7 separate regions of the Homo sapiens genome follow, and regions 1, 2, 3, 5, 6 and 7 are each linked to region 4. The links are contacts of gene promoters, found by promoter capture Hi-C in blood cells and fetal thymus (Javierre and others, 2016). All regions are on one chromosome and are shown on one strand. The core of a region is centred on a gene start or on the middle of the fragment in contact, and the rest is flanking DNA. Distances in the headings are between cores, read along the strand shown.

Region 1 (3,177 bases), core at 585-3,084, 8.1 Mb after region 4:
GGTGAGGGAGGTATGTGGCTTTTTTTTTTCCTTTGAGAGCAAGTTTTGCTCCTGTTGCCCAGACTGGTGTGCAATGGCAGGACCTCAGCTCACCACAACCTCCACCTCCCAAATTCAAGCAATTCTCCTGCCTCAGCCTCCCGAGTAGCGGGGATTACAGGCATGTGCCATCACACCCGGCTAATTTTGTATTTTTGGTAGAGACGGGGTTTCTCTATGTTGGTCAGGCTGGTCTCAAACTCCCGACCTCAGGTGATCCGCCCACATCAGCCTCCCAAAGTGCTGGGATTATAGGCGTGAGCCACTTTGCCTGGCCGGTATGTAACTTTTTCAACTTAGCAGCTATATTCTTTAGGAATAGAATGGAAGGCAGGTTTGCCCTAAAGCTCCCAGCTTAACTTTTCCTTTTGGCTTAGTGATTTGGGGGTCCCTGGATTTATTTTCCTTTCACATTTCCTCCCGTTTCTTTTTAAATTCTTTCAGATAAAGCATTTTACAAGAAAGTGAGTCTCCTCTAACATGATATTTGGAGGAGAAGAGCCATCTGATCTCTCATGGCTACGATGGTTTATTCCCAGTTGGGTAGGACACACATTATTAGGAGGGCTCATTTTTAGCAGGTTGTGAAGTCTCACATCCTATGAAGAGAAAATATGGGTAGGAAAGGAGAAAAACAGCGACAAACAAACCAAAAAAGATAATTCTGGAAAATCAATATGGGCCATAATACTTTGAAGTCCATACATCAGCAGGCAGGTATGAGAGTGGTTTATGTATGTACATAGGTTGTTCTTATTTACTTCTGAAGTTTAAGTTGTCTAGCTTCATTTTGCAGGGCTTTAAGAAAGCACAGTTTAGTTTTCAGTGATTTAAAATTAGGAAAAAATGGGTAAGGGAAAGGAAAAGAAAGAAGAAAATAATTGAAAACATCATTTTGGAGACTTTTAGCCAGAAAAAAATTTTGGAATTCAGTCCAAACTGTAGAAAATAATAAAAATTAAATAACATTAGGCAAGACTAGAATCTAACAGCATGTATACTATAGTTGTTGAAACATAATTTTTCTCTCTCCAGTTTCCCATTTTTACTAAAGAGAAATCATGGTAGGACCTATTCGCTTTATTATACTTGGTCTGATTATTTGTATAAAGTGCCGCAAGAACAATTATTTTTCACACAAGCCTTTTTAAATGACTTTGATGGAACTCTATTCCATAGAAAAAGTCTCAGATAAGACTTTTTAAAAGCCGAGCCCGGCCATGGCTTTGTACCATCGAATACATATGAGTTGGGTAAATTCCCCTCCTCTAGAGGTCCCAAGATCACTTGGGGCTCCTGGGCTTGTCAAAAAGTGACATTCTTTACTTACCACAAATCAGAAACCCTGTATAGGGTCTGTGTAGACAAGGTTTGGGGCCTGTTTTCCCAAGGAGCTTTTATTGGCTCTGTAACTCAAGTTTGACTCCTTAAAGAAAAGCACACCATTTCAGTCAAAGCCTTGGTAAAATAACCAGTTTCTCCAATGGTGTTCTGTTGCAAAAGAAAACATTCTTATTGCACTTATGCAAATAACTACATTGACATAAGTTAAGAATATTCACAAATAGTTTCCAAATTCTGGAGAAATCAGGTAAAGAGAAAGAAATATGCTCCAAATTTTGTTCACTGGAGTATACTTTACTGAATTGTTAAAAGCTGTCAATAGCTCAAAAGTAAAGTTTCCTTGACTCAGGAAAACATAAAAAAGGATCAGCAATTTTTTAAGGATCAGCAATTTTTTAGCAAAAAAGTCAACAATATCATTTCAGTCTTCTATTTGTTCGGTCCATGCAATTAACTCCTGTTTGATATTCACGAATACTTCAGCTCTCCATGAGAGTCCTAAAAGTTTACTCCTCTATTCCACTTTAAAAAAAAAAAAATGTTCCCAAGCAGACTCATGTCACATTTTTCTTTATTCTAATGTCACAATCTCCAGAGTAATTAGAAACCTGCATTCAAAAACACCTATCAAAATCCAATAGCTAATTATAAACGACCTTTTGAAGAGGACTGAAAATAAGACAATTGTCTGTGGATGACAAAGTCTTAGGACAGGGTTTTATAATCTATCAAACATTTGTGGAGAGTGTTTTACAAAAAAAAAAAAAAAAACAAACAAAAACCTTTGAGCTACACAGTGAATGTAAAGCTGAGGCTAGACAGGAATGGGATAGGGTGAATCTTCAGTCCCAGAGATCAACAGCCAATGGTTCATTTTTTGTAGGTTAACCTGACCTGGTGGAGTCCTCCATTGGTACCAAGCACAGTTCTTCACTTTCAACTCTAGATGACTTACCCCGGGGCACTTTTACCTTTTGCTTTCTGTCTAGCCTCCTACACAGTCTTTCTTTTACCTACTCTACTAGACTAAGTGATTATAACTGTTATCATCTTTTCTGAGCCTATAATCAAAAGTCAGTATCTGACAAAGAAGCAGATTGTTAAATCCAAGAATTTCTCTGTATCAGGAAAGTATTAATATGGATTCCTGCCTCCTCATTCATTAGTTGCACAGCTTCCTGCAACATAACAACTGGCCAGAAGATTCACCTGTGCAAATTGCCTGAGTGTTGGAGACTGCTTTTATTTGATCTCTCCCACCATCCACCCCGTTTTTGTTTTGTGTCACTTTCATTTGGTTAATAATATTCTAACAATATTTATCATTATAGTTATCTTGATTTGATGCAATTTTTCTTAATGAGATTGATAAAAATATTAGTCTTTCTTAATTCTTTATTATTTATTGTTTTGGATAACACACTGGAAAGGGAAATAGGAAAGGCTCTACATCGTTTGTCATATGTGCTCCACAATTTGCCCTCAAGTTTGATTCCTAGGTCCTACCACCCACACAAAACTGCCATCACCAGCCTGCTCCAATTCTACCCAATTACTAGCCATTGTCATAATTCAAAGTTCCTATGACCTCCTCCAAAGGAGCACAATTTTGTATTTGATCACTTTCTGACCTCCCTGGAATCTACCCCACCTCCAATCACACTAGGATTAGAATCTAAATTCTGCAGCTACCTTGATATCAGTCTCTGTAGGGAAGCAGCCTGCAGCCTCCTATGGACTCCCATCAAGACAGGTTACCTTTTCCCGCTACAGGGTGTTGCTCACAGATTTTTT
Region 2 (3,507 bases), core at 351-2,850, 8.1 Mb after region 4:
CAAAACAGGAACTTGCAACGACTACGTAGGCACGGTTAAAGCCAGCATTGTTACAACTAGAAATCGAAACTGGAATAAATCTCAACTTGCTACGCTAAGAAATAGCTAAACCCTGACTTGGTCAGACTAAGAAATCGGGAGTTTGAGAGCAGCCCGGGCAACATGGCGAAACCCCGTCTCTACAAAAAATTCTGGGTGTGGCGATGGGGAGCCTGTAATCCCAGCTGCTGGAAAGACTGAGGCGGGAGAATTACTGGAGGTTGCAGTGAGCCGAGATCGCACCACTGCACTCCAGCCTGGGAGACAAAAATGGACAAACAAACCAACAAACAAAGTTAACATTCTGAATAGGTTTATCAACATAAAGACACTGCTAGCTAACATTGGCTAGCCTCTCTAGATCTGCTAGAGATGTTTGCCTTTCTAGATCTGCTTACCATGCTTCAGTCACCTCTATGTTGCAAGAAGTAACCTGCATGGACTGCACTGGAGAGCTACTTTTGCTCCCAGGATTCTGATTGAGTTTAGGCACTGAAAGACACCAGCTGTTCAGAGATATGGAGTAGACCTTGCTTTGTTCCCCCTGGGCCTCAGTATATTGAATTATTTTACCTGAAGTCAAAATTAGGCTGCACTGCGGCTCCAACAGTTCCAGCAGACACAGGGAGGGCAGCACTGAAAGGGCAACACTTCGTCCTGGACATCTCAAAGTCCAGCCCCCGGTGATCCCGGCAGCCATCCGCCAGACCCTCTGAGGCCACATCTGCCTCACTTCTCAACTGAGCCATCTTCCCAGCATAAACAGCCGCTGCTTCCTCCTCCTCCGCCCTCTCCTCACATCCCCTGTGAATCTGAAGCCTGCAGGCAGGAAAAAGCAGCCCTTTTTCCCTCCAACATCCCCACCCTCACCTCTCAGGAGTAGAGTGTGCTTAGTGCGCCCCCAGCCCTGTCAGTTCTTCCGACTCTTATTCCAACTCGGGAGCCCTCCCAGGCGCCTATCCTAACTGGACCTTAGGGACCTTGAGTCTACTGAAGCCAGGAAGCCCACCCCTTGAAAACCTCCGGTGACTTCACAAGGATACCCAGCCCCTAGTCGGGCAAGAGACCATTCTCTGGGGAAAGAAAATTCTGTGGTGGCTTGTAGGTTCCTCTTTCTTTTCTCTGACCTCTTTTCTCAGTTCTGCTCATTTCACTCCTCTAGTGGGAAGACCTCAACCCTCCTCTCCCTTCCTCTACCCACTGTCAAGGTACACACACACACACACACACACACACACACACACACACAGACACATCCACCTGGGGCTGCTCGACGTTTTCCTCCTCTGTCTTCCCTGGAGTCTTCCCTTGTCTTTCCTGTGCAGCAGAAGGTGGATGGTGATTCTCATCCACCTTCAATGCCCTATACTCCCCACACGGAGGAGACACATTGGTGAAATAGGATTGATTTTTGTCCCCTGGTGGACCAGCAGATGTCCTGGTTTCTGCCTCACACACCAAAGGAAGTGCTTGACTGCTTTTTTCAGCTTGGGTTAACCTGCTGATCCATCAGCATAGCTTGTTACAGATATAATCCAGGTTATGTACGTGTGCTGGAGACAGCCACATGCCACCCTGGAAGTCCCTCACGGCTCTTCCTGGTCTTCTTTTCTCAGCCAGGAGATAGAGGAAAAGCGTCAGTGGGGCTGGGAAATCAATGACTGCCTGAGTTTCCTAACTTCCACATCACTTCTGGAGCCATGCCAGTTAGGGATCTCACCAGTCCTTTAATGTGCCCTGGGGGAGACCATTGTAATAGCACTTGAAATCCCAGAGACAGCAAGGGTCCCACTGAAAGCACCTGGCACAGTATTCTCTGGTAGAATTTGGAATCCAGTTTTCCATTGACTGTTGTCAATTTTGAAACCCAAAGAAATCAGCACATGTGCTGCTGCTCTTCTGGGAGGTCCAGCAGACACAGGGTCAAATTCTGTAAAATAGTTGATGAGATTTATTGTGAACCAAATGTGAGTGACCATTAGCCCATGAAACAGCCATCAGGAGATCCTGAGAACATGTGCTTCAGGTGGTCAGTGCACAACTTGGTTTATATATATTTTAGGAAGTCATGAGATCAATACATTTAAGGTGTTGTACATTGGTTCAGTCCAGAAAGGCAGTACAACTGGAAGCATGATCTTTCAAGTTGGAGAGGTTCAAAAATTTTATGATTGGCAATTTGTTGCAATAACTATTATCTCTAGAAAGGAATGCCTGGGTTGCCATAAGGTGTTCCAGAGACAAAGGTGTCGCAGATGAAGCCTCCAGGTGGAAGACTTCAGAGAGATAGATTGTAAATGTTTCTAACCAGACTTAAAGAGTCTGTTCTATCAATAATTTTAAAAGAGAGGAGAATATAATGAGGCATGTCTGACTCCCCCTTCCCAGCATGGCTTGAAACTACTTTTTCAGTCTAACTTTGGAATGCCCTTGGCGGAGAAGAGGGGTCCATTCAGATGTTGGTGGCAGGGGGCTTCAAATTTTATTTTTGGTTTACAATAGCAATGAAGTAATAACCACATTCAAGTTTAGTAAATGAGTGAGCCCTCATCTACTATGGTTATGTTTGTGTCCTGGTCTGAAAACCAATTTTTTTTTTTTATTGTTTTCTGGAATTATTCCTGGACATGAGGACTCTACCTGTCAGAGTTCAGTTAGGAAAAGAAACCAAAGCAGCCCACACCGTGAGAGCCAAGCTAATGTGCTGCCATCCCACTGCCAAGCCATAACCAGAATGACTGTTCATCTTTTTATTGCCTCATGTCCCACTAAGCCTGCCTACCATTGTGACCCTGTTGGTAAGGCAAATTTAGAAATGGAGGTTTTAGGAGTCCAGGCCCACAACTCAAGGGAGGAAACAAAAAGGCATAAATGTGCCTAACCACGAAGAATAAACACAGTAAAATAATAACTAAATGTGTTTTAAAAGCTAAATTTTAAAGATGTTTTTTTGGGTGGGGGAGATGGAGTCTTGCTCTGTTGCCCAGGCTGGGGTGCAGTGGCGGGATCTCAGCTCACTGCAACCTCCGCCTCCCAGGTTCACACCTTTCTCCTGCCTCAGCCTCCCAAGTAGCTGGGACTACAGGCGCCCGCCAACATGCCCGGCTAATTTTTTTGCATTTTTAATAGAGATGGGGTTTCACCGTGTTGGCCAGGATGGTCTCGATCTCCTGACCTTGTGATCTGCTCGCCTCGGCCTCCCAAAGTGCTGGGATTACAGGCGTGAGCCACCGCGCCCAGCCTTTTTTTTTTTTTTTTTTTTTTGAGACAGAGTTTTGCTCTTGTTGCCCAAGCTGGACTGCAGTGGCGCAATTTTGGCTCACGGCAATCGCTGCCTCCCGATTCAAGCGATTCTCCTGCCTGAGCCTCCCGAGTAACTGGGATTACAGGCATGCGCCACCATGCCTGGCTAATTCAGTAGAGATGGGGTCTCATCATGTTGGTCAGGCTGGTCTTGAACTCCTGACC
Region 3 (3,236 bases), core at 310-2,809, 7.0 Mb after region 4:
AAAGGTTAATTATTTTTTGAAAATTATTTTTTGAAAAGTTTAGTAAAATCTTCTGAAGGCTTCATTTAGTTCTACATCTTGTAGAAGATTCAGAAGGCATCAGGTGTAACCTTCTGCTCTTTTCTCTATCCATTGCTGGCTCCCTACTTTCATTTTGAATTTATCCCTATTTCCCTATTTTTCCCCCTTTGTGTACAGATACGATCATTCTCCACCCTACCTTCCAGCACTTGCCCCTCTTCAACTACCACCTTCTCCATCCCTTGTTGAGAAAGCCTTCTCTCAACTTCTTGTTTATACTTAGATTCTTTTTTTCCTCACCTACAATTCCCACACTATTGAATAATTGTCTACTCCCACAGACCACATCATATCCCCTTGCCATCTTGCTTGTTGACAAGAGTGCATATGTGCCAGGCACTGTATGAGGCACCAAGGACACAAAATACATGATTCCTGTCCTCTATATTTAGGGTGAATTGTCAGAAGAAACTGGTATTACAAAGGTCAGTTAGAGAGTCATTGTGGTCAATCACTTATAAATCACAATACACTTTTTCTCTATTTTTAGTATTTTTCTATTACATATAAAAAACTACCTTCCATGAGAAACAATAGGATGGAGATTATTCAAGATATAGTGTGTCAAACTGAGAAATGAATACACAGAGTTAACGATTTGTTTGACCAGAGGCAAGAAAGCATTCACAGAATGCAAAGTGAAGTTAGACTTGCTGACTGAGTGCTTTGAAACTCCCGATTGAGAGGATGAACCTCATGCACAATTAGCGCCTTAAGGGAAGGTCTTGAGATGAAAGAAAAATGAAAATAGTTTTGTGGCCGCAGAATTTACTACCACTGGACGCAAGATGTCTAAAGTACTTTAAATGTGAACTCCAAGGGAGGTCAGAGATAAATTCGACTGCTAAAAATCAGATTTACAAAAGCAATATTCAACCATGTAGACTGGCAACTCCACTAGTGTTTGGAGCTCCCCATCCAGATGTACAACAAACTCTTGGAGACTTGGATGTGTTACACAGGGGGCCGGTCGGGTTTCCATTTAGGACCAGGAGATTATAATCACTTTATTTTAGCAACCTCCTTACTACAAGGCCAAAACTGACAGTCCTCTCTCCAGACCCTCGCGTCCGCCCTCCAGACTGTGCTTCCCGCGCCGGACAGGGAAGTGGGAGTGCGGACGACAATCCGCATCCTGCCAGCCAGACGTCACCAAGCTGTCTTCCAAGAGGCAGGCGGAGAGAGCTGACTTCCGATTGGGTCAGCCGAGGGGCACGGCTGGCTCCCTATTGGCTTACAGGAGGGGGCTAGAGAGAGGCGTGTCTCAACGTCACACCCGCCCCTAGTCTCCTTGCTGCTCAGGATTATGGGAGGGAAGGGAAGTCCAGGAGGGAAAAATGACCCGGAAAGACCTTTGCCGGCCTGGGCCAGCCCTCTTCCGGAGCTGATGTCTCCTCCCACCAACCAGGAGAGGTCCGCCCTAGGCCCCGCCCGTGCCGGGGGATCAGGTGATTGCGGGCCAACACGGTCACGTGACCGGGGCGCACCCGCCGATTGTGGCCATGGCGGCCGCAGTCTCTAGTGTGGTGAGACGAGTGGAAGAGCTCGGGGATCTGGCTCAGGCCCACATACAGCAACTTAGCGAAGCTGCCGGTGAAGATGGTGAGGGAGCGGAGGAGAGGGAGGCGGGCGGGGCAGACGGCGCTAAGGTACTGGCGCTCGATGGCTGTGAGGGCTAGAGGCTGAGGCCTGTGTTCCTTTGGGTCCCAGGCCGCAGGTGGTTACCCGAGGTCTGTCGCTTCTGAGCCCCTCTGCGCCATCGATTGCCCACTTCCCAGAACTCACAATGCCAAGGCGTTGTCTTCGAAAACCGCATTATTCAGAACCCATGGAAAATCTGTCTAGATCCGTGCTGGTGTAAACTGTCTCGGTAGCGATTGGAAGAAGGGCAGAATCTAAATAAAATACAGAAGTTTAAATAAATGGCTAAGATGAATGATAACACTCAAATTAGTTATGGTGGTTTGCATCCTGTAAAGATAAAAAGACATGTATAACAGTTCCACTTTTTCATTGCTGCGTTGTAATTTGCGTTTTACGTTTTGGATTCAAAACAACATTCTATAGAAGAGCTTTACATTGGTGTGTAGACTATTCTGCCCCATACATCATGCCAGTTCTCACAAGGGCTCTGTTAAGTATTGGCATACTTGTTTTGGAAAGGTCTAAGCTGTTAGGAAAAACTGGGCTAGGGAATTGCCTCAACCTTCTGAATTTAAGTCCAATTCTTTTCATTACGTCTCAGCTGCCTTTAGGTTCTACATTATTCCTTTTTGAGTTTGAGCAATTACTACAGATAGTTTTTAAAATTCTGTGGACTGACTCATATCATCGGACTCATAGGAAAACAGTGGTGGAACATTTTCTTAAGCGATTGAATAGTTGGTGAATTTGTTATTAAATAGGGTCTATGATGAAATGCCTTAGTTTCAGTGAATATTTTTTGCCAGATTATCATTTATCAGGAGTGTTTTGTTTTGTTTTGTTTTTAGAGGCAGAGTATCATTCTGTTGCTCAGGCTGGAGCCCCTCTAGTAGTGGGACAACAGGCGCACACCATCTCGCCCGGCTAACTTTGGCATATTTTGTAGAAACGGGGTTCACCATGTCATCCAGGTTGGTCCTGAACTCCTGGGCTCAAGCATTCCACCCGCTTTGGCTTCCCAAAGTGCTGGGATTACAGGCGTGAGCCACTGTGCCAGGCCAGGAGTGTGTTCTTTAAAGACCTACAGACCACCCTGAAGCCGACTTATATTTTGGTCTGTGGATTCACATGAATAATTCTTGGGTAGTAGGAGCTATTAACTTGAAAGTTATCTATGTTACCTCTAATTCCAGATTCACTTGAACCAGTCCAAAGAGACCAAAGAATGTTTTTTATTCACTTATCACTGAACTAAAAAGCCATTCTCATTTCCCTTGGAAGAGTTCTTTAATCTGGAATGAATCAGAGCTGGAAATAAAAGTCATGTGCTATATATGGAATTCTTGTTTGAAGGCTTTATACTTCTGAAAATTTACTAAAATAAAATGACAATGTTAGTGGTCCACATTATGAGCCGTTGATCAGCATGGAAATCAGTTCAATCTTAAAAATATTACAAGATTTATGAACTTTAATTAAAACAAGATTTCATGTACTTGAATTGAATTTGG
Region 4 (3,187 bases), core at 529-3,028:
GGTCTTGCTCTGTCACCCAGGGCTGTAGTGTGGTGGTGTGGTCATAGCTCACTGCAGGCTCTAACTCCTGGGCTCAAGTATTCCTGCCTCAGCCTCCTGAGTAACTAGGACTACAGGCCCACGCCACCATGCCTGGCTTTTTTTTTTTTTTGTAGAGACAAGTTCTCGCTATGTTGCCCAGGCTCGTCTTGAACTCTTGGGCTGAAGGGATCCTCCTGCCTCGGCTTCCCAAAGTGCTGGGATTACAGGCATGAGCCACCACGCCTGGTCAAGATGTTCCTTTAGACTGAAATTTATATCCAGCATAGTTACCTTTAATTATACAATGTTACAGGCAAAAATCCTTCTTACTTCAGAAGGTAAAAGAAGTAAGTGATTCCTACAGGCTGTATCCAAAACCAAATCAAGTTGGAGGGAGAAAATACTCCAAATTAAGTTGGAGGGAAAAAAATACTTTCCCTTTCCGTTTTTTTTTTTTTTTTTGTCCCTCCCTTCCCCCCGCCCACCATCCCAATTCTGTTCTCAGGAGGGGAAAGGTTTCATTCTCCCCCAAACTCAGACTTCTCAATCCTTATCCATTACCAATTTACCAACTAACTGAGACTGTGTAGAATCTTCCTCTGGAAAAAAGGGAAGTGTATGAATTCTGAGTAGTGAGTTGGTTGGTCAGTGGCGTGTGAAGTAACCTGATGAAGCTTAGCGTGGGTTTTTTATTTTACTGGGGGCAGCATATTGGGGAAGAGAAGGATAACCTTACTAAACCGCTTGGGTACGCCAACCCTGTGCAATAGATATTAGCAACATAGCTAACCATACATGGTTAGTAAATACAACCCACACCTAACTGATGCATGTAAACATTCCACATTACAGTGAAATATATTGGTGTATTAATGCATTTTAATAATTATGGTATTATTTTGATACCTTTCAAAGTGTTTGGAATAATTGTGCAGATAGTCAGATCAACCAAAACCTACCAGTTAAATACTATCCTTTAACTGCTTTCTTAACCTAAACCAATCTTGGAAAGGTAGGATTAGAGGCCAGAAAGTTAGGATTAAAGTGTGTTGGATGGATAGATCAGCACAATTTCATCCATGTTGGTGGTAAGGCTTTTCATTAAGTGTGTTGATGCTTCCCTTTTAAATTGTTTCCGCTTAAATAATCTAACTGTCCTTTCTCAAGCATATTGGTCAAGATGATCAATACCAGATATCTTAAGTGGCAGCTGAAGAGAATTAAAGAGATTAAAAAAAAAACCTGATATTCAGTCCAACCGAATTCTGCTACTGTATTAGCTGAGGAGGCTTGAGCCAACCACTTGACCACTTGGAGTCTGAATCGCCTTATCTATAAAAACGGGGATCCATTGAGAAATTATAATCAGATATTTTCCAGAATCCTCTCCCATCCCAGCTCCTATCTCCCCCTTCAGCCCTCAGGTCGGCTGCCACTCACACTGACCGCCATCTGTGCCCCTCACAATGACACCAGCGTGGCCCTGCCTCCCTTCCGCGCGGCCCCGCCTCTCGCCCCGCCGAGGCCCCGCCTCTCACACCAAGGTCCCGCCTTCCTCCTGTTCTTCCCGGCCAAGGCCTACCTTCCTCCCACGCGGCCCGCCTCTTTCCCCGCCAAGCTCCCGCCTTTCTCCTGCGCGGCCCGCCTCTCTCCTCGCCAAGGCCCCGCCTTCCTTCCTCGGGGCCTCGCCTCTCACCCCGCCGAGGCCCCACCCCCTCCCGCGCGGCCCTTTCCGGCACAGAGCCCACCCCTAGCCCATGCGAAGCGGCGGCCGCCGGCACCGCCCCCGCCGCGCTCCCGCTTGCCGCAGCCTGCGTCGTCTGCCGCCACCGCGCGCCTTCACTGACCTACACCACCGCCGCCGCCGCCGCCGCCGCCGGGCTCGCTGGCTGGCCCGGTGCGGGCGGCGGACTCCCGCCGGAGAGGACTGCCAGCGCCGCCGCCGCCGCCGCTTCGGCCCGGGCCCGGGCCCCGACCCCGTCCCGGGCCCCAGCGCCGGCCGCCCGCCCGGTCGGGCGATGAAGTGTCACTATGAGGCGCTGGGGGTGCGGCGCGACGCCAGCGAGGAGGAGCTCAAGAAGGCCTATCGGAAGCTGGCCCTGAAATGGCACCCGGGTAAGTACCTGTCCCGCAGCCCCCGCGGCCACTCGGAGAAGCCCGGCCCTCCCCGACCTTCCCTTCCCCCGGGCGGACTCCGCGGAGCCAGCAGAGAGGGACCTGGCGGCCTAGGAGCTCCTTGCCCCGCCCGGCCAGTGCCCGGAGCCGCCCTGCCCGTCTCGGTGGGCGAAGCGCTCTGCCCTGGCGCACCCCGGCTCACACCCCATCTCCTCATACCCGCGACCCCGGCCCCGCATCGCCACTGTAGGGGGAAAACTGCAGTCCAACAACCTCACTTGCTCCCGCTACCGGGTCGCAGACACCACGAGGGAGCAGTCGGGAACTCGGAACTCAGACCTGCCCCAGGCTTGCTTTTCCCTGCGTCCCTTGCAGCGCAGCCTCTCGGTGTTTTTCCTCCGCTGCCCTCCACCTCGTCCGGGAATCCCAGATACTTCAACCTGATGTATGGCTCTTTTCGTTTCTTAGTTAAGAAGTTAAGACACGGGAGCTAGTAAAATATCTTTTCAATAGGGATGCGCTTTTTTCGCTGTTTTTTTTTTCTTTTAATAAGCTGTTTAAGCAGACCTTGTACTTCACTTTGGACATGATTCTGCCGGGGAAGGTTTTAATCAGGCGGCTTCCCCAGTAAAGTTTGTATGTTTACTTAGAAGTATCCTTCCTTTGGATGTTTCATTGGTCTGTAATCCAGGCCTGTGTGACTTTTATGAAGTAATCTGATCTTCCAGGCTGGGAAACTAAGAGAGTAGTTGACTTTCAGCTTTTTGAGGTTCATATGAAGAGGCTTTCATATTAGCATTCATCAGTAAACACGGTTACAGAGTATCCAATATATGCAAGTCACTGCACTCTACTAAGTAGATTTGGAAATGCTGAGACAGGGGTCTTAGAGTCTTGTTAGGAAAACAACTTTCTGCCTTACACAAATGAAAAGTTAAATACAACTGCCAGAAAAAAATCGCAACATACATAATTGGTGGTTAGATTAATGGAACAACTAATATATGCTCCAGGAATTCAGGGAGGGAGTTACCATTTTGTATTGAGTCTT
Region 5 (3,567 bases), core at 369-2,868, 7.0 Mb after region 4:
TCCTATTGAACAGAAAATTGAGACTATGAAGAGGTCAACTTGTATTTACCAACTTTACTCATTTTCCCATTTTAGAGGAAAAGAGGTTGCCTGCTTCCTATCAAAGGCGACTCTGTGCTACATGTTGGTTTCATCTTCGCTGTCTCTCTCATTTCCCCACAAAGTGTTGTCTCACTTTCTGCCTACCTTTTAGGTATTGATCTTCACTATATTTTTTTCTCTCTCTCTCTTTTTTTTTTTTACTTTACATATTTTATACAATGTCATTCATAACTATGGCTTCTTTTACCACCTGTAATAACAGACTGAGTCTCAAACCTGTAACTTGTATCCTGACTTATCTCTTGCTTTCTAAACCTTGTTTCTAACTGTCTATCAAATATCTTCATTAGACATCCCACAGTAATTTTAAGCTCAGTGTTTCCAAACGTCAAGTCCTCATCTGTTATATAAAATCCTTTCTGCTTTGTAAGTTTTCTCTTTTTGGGATTTTCCGCAGATCAGGGCAACACAGAATGACTACCTTCCCAGCCATGTCTCTGCAGTCATCCTGTGTAATCATGTTCTAGTCCAGTGTTGCTCAAACAGTTAAAATCCAGGCTGCTTTTGGTAAACATACAAATTCTGATATAGAGCCTCTGTGGCAAAGGGAATTTCTCAGTTCCTGCCCCAGCCCCCTTGTTTATCATTACACAGCTAAGATTTTTATTTAACTTAGCATTTTAGCAAGTTTTCTTATGAAAATACCTTTGTGCTTTCTAAGTATAAAGATTTAAATTATTTTTAATACGGTTTTTAGAACCACAGACTATCCCTCTTTTTAGAGCATCCTGATCAATTGCAAGTACTTCCACTTCTTCCCTAAATGCGCTTTGTGTGTTTTCCACCTCAGTAGCCTTGCACACATCATTACTTCTGCATCCTTCTTTGTGACCAAGTGAATACCTACCTACCTCTTAGGACTCAGCTTCAGTGATTCTGTTTTCATAGGCTTTTTAAAGCCCTTTTCAGTCAAATTAGATGCTCCTTTGTTCTGGTCCTTTACTCTTCCCCTCCCATGTTGTCGCACTGATCACACTGCTTTGTAATTATTTTCTTTATTGTTGGTAAACTCCATATTTTAAAAATTTACCTGTATACATAGTGCTTAATGCATGGTAGGCCCTTAGTAATGTTTTTGAATTAATGAGGCATGATTCTAAATGCCAAACTTTGCACAAAAAGTTGTTGCTATTGGATTCCAAACTGCTATGCCCTCTATACCAGTGGCTGACAAGGCATATAGGGATATATGCCATCCTGAGAGGAGTAAAGTGTTTAGATTCTGAACCTGAGAAAAGAGAACTTTCTCTTAAGAAGTTGGAAACTTCATTTTACCTTCGTGACCCTGGTAGACCACTTGGTCTCACTGGTTGGTACAATTATGAGGGTAGTACTGGGTGCTTTTTATACAACTTTCCATCCCCCACACAGTTGGAGAATAATTTGTAGACCATGGCAGTTAAAATGCTTTTTACTCTGGTGTATTATAGAATAATGAACACATTTTTATATATGTTAAAGCCTGCTAAATCATTCACTTAGAATGAAGTAACCTCAAGGTACCAAATACCCCACATAAGGAAAGTACTACACTAAATTCACTCAACTATTGTATGCCTACCATATGCCAGATTTTATCCTAGACCCTGAGGATATAGCTTTTTAAAACCCCCTCCTGTTTCAGAGCTTATATTCTAGTGGAGGAAGTTAGACAAGCATTTTAAGTAATAAATGTATAGAGAGTGTCAAGTGATGAGTACCATGAAGAAGAATAAATGAGGGTAAGGGGCTAGTGTGATAGGGAGAGGGGTGGGATGCCATCATATTTAGGGGTGGTTGGGAACTGTCTACTGCTTTAGCATTTGTGTCTTCAAATTTCTCTCCTTTGGTTATATACCTTGCGTATTCCGCACATTGATAAAGTTTCTTTCTTACAGAAGTTCTGATATTGAATTAAGGAATGGGTCACTACTTAAGACTTTATCATTTCAGCTACACATAAAAGGTTTCTCTCCCCTATGGATTTTGCTAATGGTTGAGTGATACCTAAAGGCCTTGTTGCATTTTTTACACTTGGGGTTTCTCTTCGGTTTGAATTCTCTCATGGTTACCAAAACTCTGTTAAAGGACTTTTCACAGTCGTTAAATGTGTATGGCTCTTTCCCAATATGAATTTTTTTGATGTTAACTAGGCTTTTAGACTTAGTTAAAGACCTGTGTGCTCTGCTGCATTTATAGGGTTTTGGGCTGCTGAGAATAATTGATGCTGATTAAGGTGCAAATCATGACTAAAGACTTTTCTTTCTTCTTTTGCATATAGTAGAGTGAGGTGAGGGTCGTGGCTAAAACCCCACAATAACTTTACATTCCTAGCTTTACAGTCTTGCTGTGAATTCTCTGGTGTTCATTAAAGTGTGAGCTGTGTTAAAAGGCATTCTTAGATTCATTTTAACCACATTTTTAAAAACTCACAGTTGGTTAACATGATGGTTTCAGATTGCTTGCCTCTTTTCTCTTTCTACCTTACAGGGCTCCTTTTCTAGCTTAAATAAGGGTACTCCATCTGCCACAGAATCCAGGATTCTATAGTTTTTTAGTTTCACTTCCCTATGTTCTTTTTTTTTTTTTAATTTTTAACAATGAGATGATACCATGTTACAGCGGTATTACATTAAGATACATTTAATATAGCCACAATTAAAGTATGTATTATGTATTTATGCTGGTGTTCTTTCATGTTATTTCTTCTAGTGAAAATTTCCAAGTAAACTGTTATTGAGCATATACATTTTTAAAAAAATAAAACCATACACCCCTACTTGTTGCTTGTTTTATATTTGGCTGTTGCATCAGAATTAAAACTTTTATCATCTCAGTTTACTATTTTAACTTCTGAATGTTATTTCTTCTGGTCCTAATAACTTTTAAAGATGGGGTAATATAGTGGTTAGGATTCTGAGCTCTGGAGCCAGAAGGCCTGAGTTTAATCATAGCCCTGCCATTTATAATACTAACTGTGTGACTCTCTTTAAGTTATTTAATCTTCCTGTGCTGCCTTATCTTATTTTTAAGGCAGTAATAGTACCTACCTCAAGGATATTGAAGATAAATAAGTTAATATTCAGAGTGCTTTAGTTCAGTGTGTAGTATATAAGAGCACAAGAGAATTAGCTATTTCTAGACTGTTTCCCTTAATGTCTAGTTCTGTATATAGGCATACCTCATTTAGCATGCTGACTCATTAGCCAGACAATTGAATGACAAACTTGTTGGCCAGGAAAGCACTGCCTTTTCCTTAGTTCAAGTCATGCCGGTCTTTCTAGGTGGGAAGCAGACTTCAGAGAAGAAATCAGGACTTGGATAGGCATCTCAAATGTTTTTTGTGGATATGACTGGAAGAAAACATCCAATTAATTTTCAAAACATTTTCAGCCCTCCCTCAAAATATATATAAAACCCACTGTATTGAGATGTACTAGTCATCTAAATATGTTATACATATCCTATTTAAAACTGGATTTTTTA
Region 6 (3,253 bases), core at 554-3,053, 8.2 Mb after region 4:
AAAATAGGCTACAATTTTTGGAAACTTGGGATTTCTTGATTTTTTTTTCTTTTTGAAATGGAGTCTTGCTCTGTCCCCCAGGCCGGAGTGCAGCGGTGCGATCTCGGCTCACTGCAAGCTCTGCCTCCCGGGTTCACGCGATTCTCCTGCCTCAGCCTCCATAGTAGCTGGGACTACAGGCACCCGCTACCACGCCCGGCTAATTTTTTTGTATTTTTAGTAGAGACAGGGTTTCACTGTGTCAGCCAGGATGGTCTCAATCTTCTTACCTCGTGATCCGACCGCCTCGGCCTCCGAAAGTGCTGGGATTATAGGCCTGAGCCACTGCGCCTGGCCGATTTCTTGATTTTTTAATATACCAGGAACCTCTAAAATGAAAGTGGCCCTGATGACCTCTAGGAGACCACAGAGAAGATATAGTCTCAGTTTCCTCAAAAAAATTCTAATCTAGGGGAGAGAGACACATTAATAGGCCACTTTAGTACCGTGTAAGAGGAAGCTTTCTTAAGCCCTATGCATGAATCCTTTAAGACAAACCAATACCAACAATTTGCCAAAAACATGTCCTAAACTGCACTGCTCAGTGCTGAGAGAAAGCATGCTGAATTTTTAAAAATATTTTTTTTAGTCAGAGCTATGAGAGTGCTGAATTTTATCATTCTATGTATTCTTTATTTTTCAATTAATTCCATGTCCTATTCTGCTATTCTTATTTTTTCAATAAAGATTCTAAATGTGTTGATACAGCTACCTTGTCTGTTTTTATGTAACTAATGTCATCTTATTAAGTGATATTATTAGTAATCTCTATTTCAGGAAAACACAAGTTATTTGATTACAAGTATATTCAAATCAAGGGTCTGCACTAAAACCATCCACATCTTCTCCCTATCACAGGTTATCAGTACAACCCTCAATGTCTCTATCTTCACCACTATAATGTTATTTTTTGGCCAGGACTCTGTTCGCTTGGCCCTCAAAGAAAACAACAGGAGCTTAAAAGATTCAGAAGAACCCAATGAACATATAAAAGTGTTACCTTCATCACTAAAAATAATGCTCTGGACTCTAAAGTTTACACACAAGGGGTGATGAGGGAGGGAGCCTGACTAAACTCATGCTTTCTCACTATTGCTCCCTGGTTTTCTCCTAGCCTTTTGAAACTCATTGATCACTATCACTATCAAGCTAGCCATGAGCATGGGCACTGATTCCCTTTTAACTCTGTCTGACCCAACTAAGGACAAAACATTGATTACCAACTTACACAAAAATGGAATATTTAAAGGAGTCTTTAGTGATAACATCTCAGAAATGAACAATGAGAATAAATCCAAACAATCTTTTTTTTTTTTTTTTGAGAAGAGTTTTGCTCGTTGCCCAGGCTGGAGTGCAATGGCGAGATCTCAGCTCACCACAACCTCAGCCTCCCGGGTTCAAGCGATTCTCCTGCCTCAGCCTCCCAAGTAGCTGGGATTATAGCATGCACCATCATGCCTGGCTAATATTGTATTTTTAGTAGAGACAGGGTTTCTCCATGTTGATCAGGCTGGTCTCGAACTACTGACCTCAAGTAATATGCCCGCCTTGGCCTCCCAAAGTGCTGGGATTACAGGTGTGAGCCACCGCGCCCAGCTCCAAACAATCTTAATAAAAAGGAGGACTCAGATGTGGGTTAAAAGCCTAAGGTGCTACACCCTAGGAATAAAGGAGAACTGGTAATAAACTAGTTCTCAAAAGGAAGTAAGTTAATCTTCGAATTATCTCCCTTTCTTTTTTTTTTTTTTTTTTTTGAGACAGTTTCGCTCTGTCGCCTAGGCTGGAGTGCAGTGGCACAATCTTGGCTCACTGCAACCTCCACCTCCTGAGATCAAGCGATTCTCCTGCCTCAGTCTCCCGAGAAGCTGGGATTACAGACATGTGTCACCACGCCCGGCTAATTTTTGTATTTTTAGTAGAGACAGGGTTTCACCATGTTGGCCAGGCTGGTCTCGAACTCCTGACCTTGTGATCCGTCTGCCTCAGCCTCCCAAAGTGCAGGGATTACAGGCGTGAGCCACTGTGCCCAGCCGAATTATCTCCATTTCTAAAATTGAATTAAGGTTATCCCAATTGCCAATACCCCTAGCTGCCAACCAAAAGCAAAATTCTTCTATAGAGAAAGATAAAATTATTGCAGGCCTCAAAGTGTTTGTAAAAAATTTCCCATACAGTATCCAGCATTCAATTTTAAGAAAATGAAAGGCAATAGAACATGAAGAAACACTGAGAGAAGCAACAACGAAACAGTCTCTAGATACCGAGACACAGACTGTAAAATACCATTCAATATGAATAAGAAAATAAAAGACAAGATTGAGAAACTCATAGAAAATTAGAAATGATAATAAAGAAGCAAAAATAACTAAAACATAAAGCAGCCATGGCCAGGCACGGTGGCTCACGCCTGTAATCCCAGCACTTTCGGAGGCCGAGGCAGGTGAATCACTTGAGGTCAGGAGTTTGAGACCAGCCTGGCCAACAGGTGAAACCCCGTCTCTACTAAAAATACAAAAATTAGCCGGGTGTGGTTGTGGGCTCATGTAATCCCAGCTACTCGGGAGGCTGAGGCAGCAGAATTGCTTGAACCTCGGAGGCAGAGGCTGCAGTGAGCTGTGATTGCGTCACTGCACTCCAGCATGGGTGACAAAGTGAGACTCTGCCTCAAAATAATAATAAATGAAACATATAGCAACCAAATCAATAACTCAATGAGTTTAACAGAAGATTAGCACAGCTGAAGAGAATTAGTGAACTGGAAGAAAAATCAGAAGAAAATGTCCATGAGGAAACAAGGAGAAAAGACAAGAGATGGGAAATACAGAACAGATGGGAAAAGACACAGAGTGTACAACAAGAAAACCTAATAAACGGGTATTTGGAATCTCAATAGGAGGTTGAGAATTGAGCAGCAGCAACATAAAAAATATTGTGCCACATCCTTCTGTCCTCTGTGGTTTCTGATCAGAGGTTTGCTGTCATTTGAATTGTTTTTCTCTGTAGGCGAGGTTTTGGGTTTTGTTTCTTTTTCTGACTGCTTTCAATAATTTTTTTGCCTTTAATTTTTATAAGCTTAATTATGTTTCTTGGTGTCGATTTATTTCAGTTTATACTTTCTAGGGTTTGGTCAGCATCTTGAATCTGTACCAAATCTTACCACATTTGGGATGTTTTCAGCCATTATTTCCTCAAGTACTTTCTCAGCCTCACTCTT
Region 7 (3,319 bases), core at 820-3,319, 8.1 Mb after region 4:
ACTAAATGGGAGGTATCTAGACTAAAAAAATCTTGTAGTCTTCTGCCCAAGATGGCCTGCTGGCCTCTAGGCAAAAATGATACATGATTAGATAAAGGTGGAAGTTTTGATTTAGTTTTGATTGAATTGTTAAACTACTGATGATACAGTGCCCACGTATATGATATTGACTCCATAAATTATCAGGTTGGCCAAAGATGTAGCAAAGGCATTTGTAAGAAAGCTGTAACTGATAACGCTTGATGGTATATTTCTACATTTTCTTCCTAAGTTTATCAGATTAGTTGACCCCTATATCAGCTGAGTTCTTTATTCTCTAAGTTATGACACGCTAATTCTTGGAGGATGTAACATAATATAAATAACATGTAAAAGCAAAATACTATACGCAGTCATTTAACCCATTTCCCATTTGTCCTGAGAATACTTGCAAGTGGGGCTTGCAGCTGCAGCATTTACCCTCAGATCACTTGCAGATTTCTTTTTTTTCAGATAATATTATAATTGCAGTATGTGTAAATCAACATTCCCTGAGAAAGTATCACCTGCCTTAACAGTTTTTGTCTGGGGAAGTTGAAAAGAAATAGTACATTCCTTTGCACATGTTGGAGGGAGAAGTATGTCTGCATAAGAGTCTGGACAGCAGGTCTCTGCCTGTGTGACATGGGTCTCCTTTGGGAATGGTCACTACTCTGTGTGTTATACCCATGCAGAGCACTGCCAACTCTCTACAATGCAAGGTTCCATCCACTGTTCACATCTGGAGAGACACATCCAGGCTACATACTCAAAGAAATGCTAAAGAGGCCGGCCGCGGTGGCTCACGCCTGTAATCCCAGCACTTTGGGAGGCCGAGGCAGGCGGATCACGAGGTCAGGAGATCGAGACCATCCTGGCTAACACGGTGAAACCCCGTCTCTACTAAAAATACAGAAAATTAGCCGGGTGTAGTGGCGGGTGCCTGTAGTCCCAGCTACTTGGGAGGCTAAGGCAGGAGAATGGCATGAACCCGGGAGGCGGAGCTTGCAGTGAGCCACGATCGCGCCACTGCACTCCAGCCTGGGCAACAGAGGGAGACTCCGTCTCAAAAAAAAAAAAAAAAAAATGCTAAAGCTAGTTTTCTGGGATCACCACTGGTACTTCTCGAGTAATACTGGCATGTAGGAGTTGCTCCTGCTCTCAGGATTCATTCTCCAGACACCTAGAGTCCATAAACCTTTCACCTAACAAGAGCTTTCAATCTTCTGCCTTCTGTATCTATTCTGTCATTCTCATTCTGTTTCATTTTTTTCACTTCCTGTTGTATAGTTGCATATTTTCCTTTTTTCTAGTAAAAAGAAGCATGGCTTTGAAGGGAAGCTTCAATTCAGACCTTTTCTTTCTGGTCTTCAAATCAGCTCCTGGAATAAACACAGAGTTAGCTGTGTTCTGAATGATCTCCTGACAGAGTCTTTATTCTCTCATTAGTAAGAGTTGTGAAAACTGCAGCCAACTCCTCATCTTTGTATTTGTGGCTCCCTTTATAGCCCCTGGAACACAGAAGGATATCAAAACATGCTTGCTAAATGTTGGGATCAATCAGATTTTACCATAGTAAACAATAATGTTTAATTAGGTAATTCTATAATTGTATCCATTGATGCTTTCCAAATAGCATGTTTAACTCAGACAAATTCCAGTTTCACAGAGGATATGAGAAGGAAAAAAAATCCACAGCAAGAATACAACAAAGAAGGATTCATTTTACATTCGTTCTGATTAAGAATATCTTTCAGTTTATGATAAAATCAACGATAATATTGTTAAAAACTGACCTAATTACTTTCAACCAGATACTGTCCAAACATTAACTTTTTCCATCAAAAGTATCCCTGATAGTTACTTTGTAAAATGAAAGCACATTTGGCTTCCATTTCTGAGGTGGTTAAAATAAAGGCTACCGGGTTGGATAACTTACAGAGGTTCACACATCTAGAATGGCATGTAACCTCTCTGTAACCGAGCCAGTGGGGCCTGAAACTTCTTGCTATTACACACAAGCAGAAGTGTTGAAATCTTTTTTCTTTCTTTCTTTTTTTAGATGGCATTTTGCTCTTGTTGCCCAGGCTGGAGTGCAATGTGGTGATCTCAGCTCACCGCAACCTCGGCCTCCCAGGTTCAAGCAATTCTCCTGCCTCAGCCTCCCGAGTAGCTGGGATTACAGGCATGTGCCACCATGCCCAGCTAATTTTGTATTTTTAGTAAAGACGGGGTTTCTCCATGTTGCTCAGGCTGGTCTCGAACTCCTAACCTCAGGTGATCCTCCCTCCTTGGCCTCCAAAAGTGCTGAGATTACAGACGTGAGCCACCGTGCCCAGCCTAAATCTTTTTTCTTTTTGTTTTTTGAGACAGGGTCTCACTCCGCTGCTCAGGCTAGAGTACAGTAAGCTGAATCTCGGCTCACTGCAGCCTCAACTTCCCAAGCTCAGGTGGCTCTCCGGCTCAGTCTTTCAAGTAGCTGGGACTATAGGCATGCACCACCTTGCCCAGTTGATTGTTGTATTTTTTTCGCCATGTTACCCAGGATAGTCTTAAACTCCTGGGCTTAAGTGATCCGCCTGCCTCACCTCATAAAGTGCTGGGATTACAGCTCTGAGCCACTGCACCTGGCCAAAATCTTTTTAATACAGCAATTCAGCAGAAGACAAAACTGGGAGAGTGAAAGACCACATTAACAATTGGGCAACTATGCTTACCCAGCTCCTCAGTAACACCCCATATCTGCTTTATACATTAACCCCAAGCTTTTCTCCTGGTAGAAAGGATTCTAGTCTCTGCTCTAGGACTAGCAATGTGATTTGGGGGCAATAATGAACTTTCTAAAGCCAGGCACCATAAAAACAGCTTTTCCTCCACAGACATGGTAGTACTTTTTCCTTTCATCTGCAAAACCAATCTGTCCTAATCTAGATAATTTCACCCCAGACGGTAGGATTTTATGTTAGTATCATTAATTCTATCTCCTAAGGAAATTTGCTTCTAAGACTGAAGTTATCATCCAGTTTCTTGTTATCTGGTTAGAACCACCCAAGAGAGCAGAAGAGTATAGAAACACAAATGCTGGAGATTTCTAAGTTCCAGATACTCTGTCACCAATTGTGAGATGGATGCCATGAAGCAGCACTTTCCTCCTGGGGTGCAGCAGGGGCAGGACTTTCCTCTGGGGTGCATCAGGCCTGGGATTCAACAGACTAGGCACCAGGACTCCAGAGGCCACCAACCCTGAGCCCAGGGGATTGTGTGCCCTGTCAGCTCCATTGTATATTATTGCACACATACA

Evidence for each region. The method cuts DNA at HindIII sites, captures the fragments that hold promoters and counts their contacts. A CHiCAGO score of 5 or more calls a contact.
Region 1: a fragment that was not itself captured here is called in contact with the fragment with the promoter of DNAJC21 in region 4 in 1 of 17 cell types (neutrophils); the score reaches 7.6 in neutrophils.
Region 2: a fragment that was not itself captured here is called in contact with the fragment with the promoter of DNAJC21 in region 4 in 1 of 17 cell types (neutrophils); the score reaches 5.2 in neutrophils.
Region 3: a contact is called between the fragment with the promoter of RIMOC1 here and the fragment with the promoter of DNAJC21 in region 4, in 3 of 17 cell types (neutrophils, non-activated CD4 T cells and total CD8 T cells). The highest score is 14.7, in neutrophils.
Region 5: a fragment that was not itself captured here is called in contact with the fragment with the promoter of DNAJC21 in region 4 in 2 of 17 cell types (total CD4 T cells and neutrophils); the score reaches 6.7 in total CD4 T cells.
Region 6: a contact is called between a fragment that was not itself captured here and the fragment with the promoter of DNAJC21 in region 4, in 1 of 17 cell types (neutrophils). The highest score is 9.4, in neutrophils.
Region 7: a fragment that was not itself captured here is called in contact with the fragment with the promoter of DNAJC21 in region 4 in 1 of 17 cell types (neutrophils); the score reaches 5.2 in neutrophils.

Annotation. Positions count from the first base shown.
Region 1 is chr5:42,987,065-42,990,241 of GRCh38, forward strand. The region is part of intron 1 of FLJ32255 (a long non-coding RNA gene); the gene reads right to left. Among named protein-coding and RNA genes, the nearest start is that of FLJ32255, 4.7 kb to the right of the region's middle. The HindIII fragment of the contact is 4,691 bases long and covers 1-3,177 here.
Region 2 is chr5:43,009,417-43,012,923 of GRCh38, forward strand. No RefSeq gene overlaps it. Among named protein-coding and RNA genes, the nearest start is that of FLJ32255, 18 kb to the left of the region's middle. RefSeq lists an enhancer at 769-1,269. The HindIII fragment of the contact is 8,923 bases long and covers 1-3,507 here.
Region 3 is chr5:41,902,785-41,906,020 of GRCh38, forward strand. RIMOC1 (RAB7A interacting MON1-CCZ1 complex subunit 1) reads left to right here and starts at 1,560. Exons shown (of 6, transcript NM_175921.6): 1 at 1,560-1,683. The coding sequence starts at 1,584. RefSeq lists enhancers at 993-1,132, 1,244-1,790, 1,543-1,662. The HindIII fragment of the contact is 10,560 bases long and covers 1-3,236 here.
Region 4 is chr5:34,927,781-34,930,967 of GRCh38, forward strand. It overlaps DNAJC21 (DnaJ heat shock protein family (Hsp40) member C21), which reads left to right and starts at 1,779. Exons shown (of 12, transcript NM_001012339.3): 1 at 1,779-2,136. The coding sequence starts at 2,040. LOC124900961 (a long non-coding RNA gene) reads right to left here and starts at 1,901. Exons shown (of 2, transcript XR_007058731.1): 1 at 1,869-1,901; 2 at 1-1,353. RefSeq lists silencers at 1,455-1,924, 1,935-2,004, 2,035-2,234 and enhancers at 2,263-2,908, 2,375-2,544. The HindIII fragment of the contact is 5,598 bases long and covers 694-3,187 here.
Region 5 is chr5:41,918,777-41,922,343 of GRCh38, forward strand. It overlaps RIMOC1 (RAB7A interacting MON1-CCZ1 complex subunit 1), which reads left to right. Exons shown (of 6, transcript NM_175921.6): 6 at 1-2,860. It also overlaps the pseudogene LOC100419715. Among named protein-coding and RNA genes, the nearest start is that of FBXO4, 4.7 kb to the right of the region's middle. The HindIII fragment of the contact is 6,841 bases long and covers 1-3,567 here.
Region 6 is chr5:43,106,748-43,110,000 of GRCh38, forward strand. No RefSeq gene overlaps it. Among named protein-coding and RNA genes, the nearest start is that of ZNF131, 13 kb to the right of the region's middle. The HindIII fragment of the contact is 2,612 bases long and covers 498-3,109 here.
Region 7 is chr5:43,027,728-43,031,046 of GRCh38, forward strand. All of the region lies in intron 2 of ANXA2R-OT1 (ANXA2R overlapping transcript 1), which reads right to left. Among named protein-coding and RNA genes, the nearest start is that of ANXA2R, 11 kb to the right of the region's middle. The HindIII fragment of the contact is 1,424 bases long and covers 1,358-2,781 here.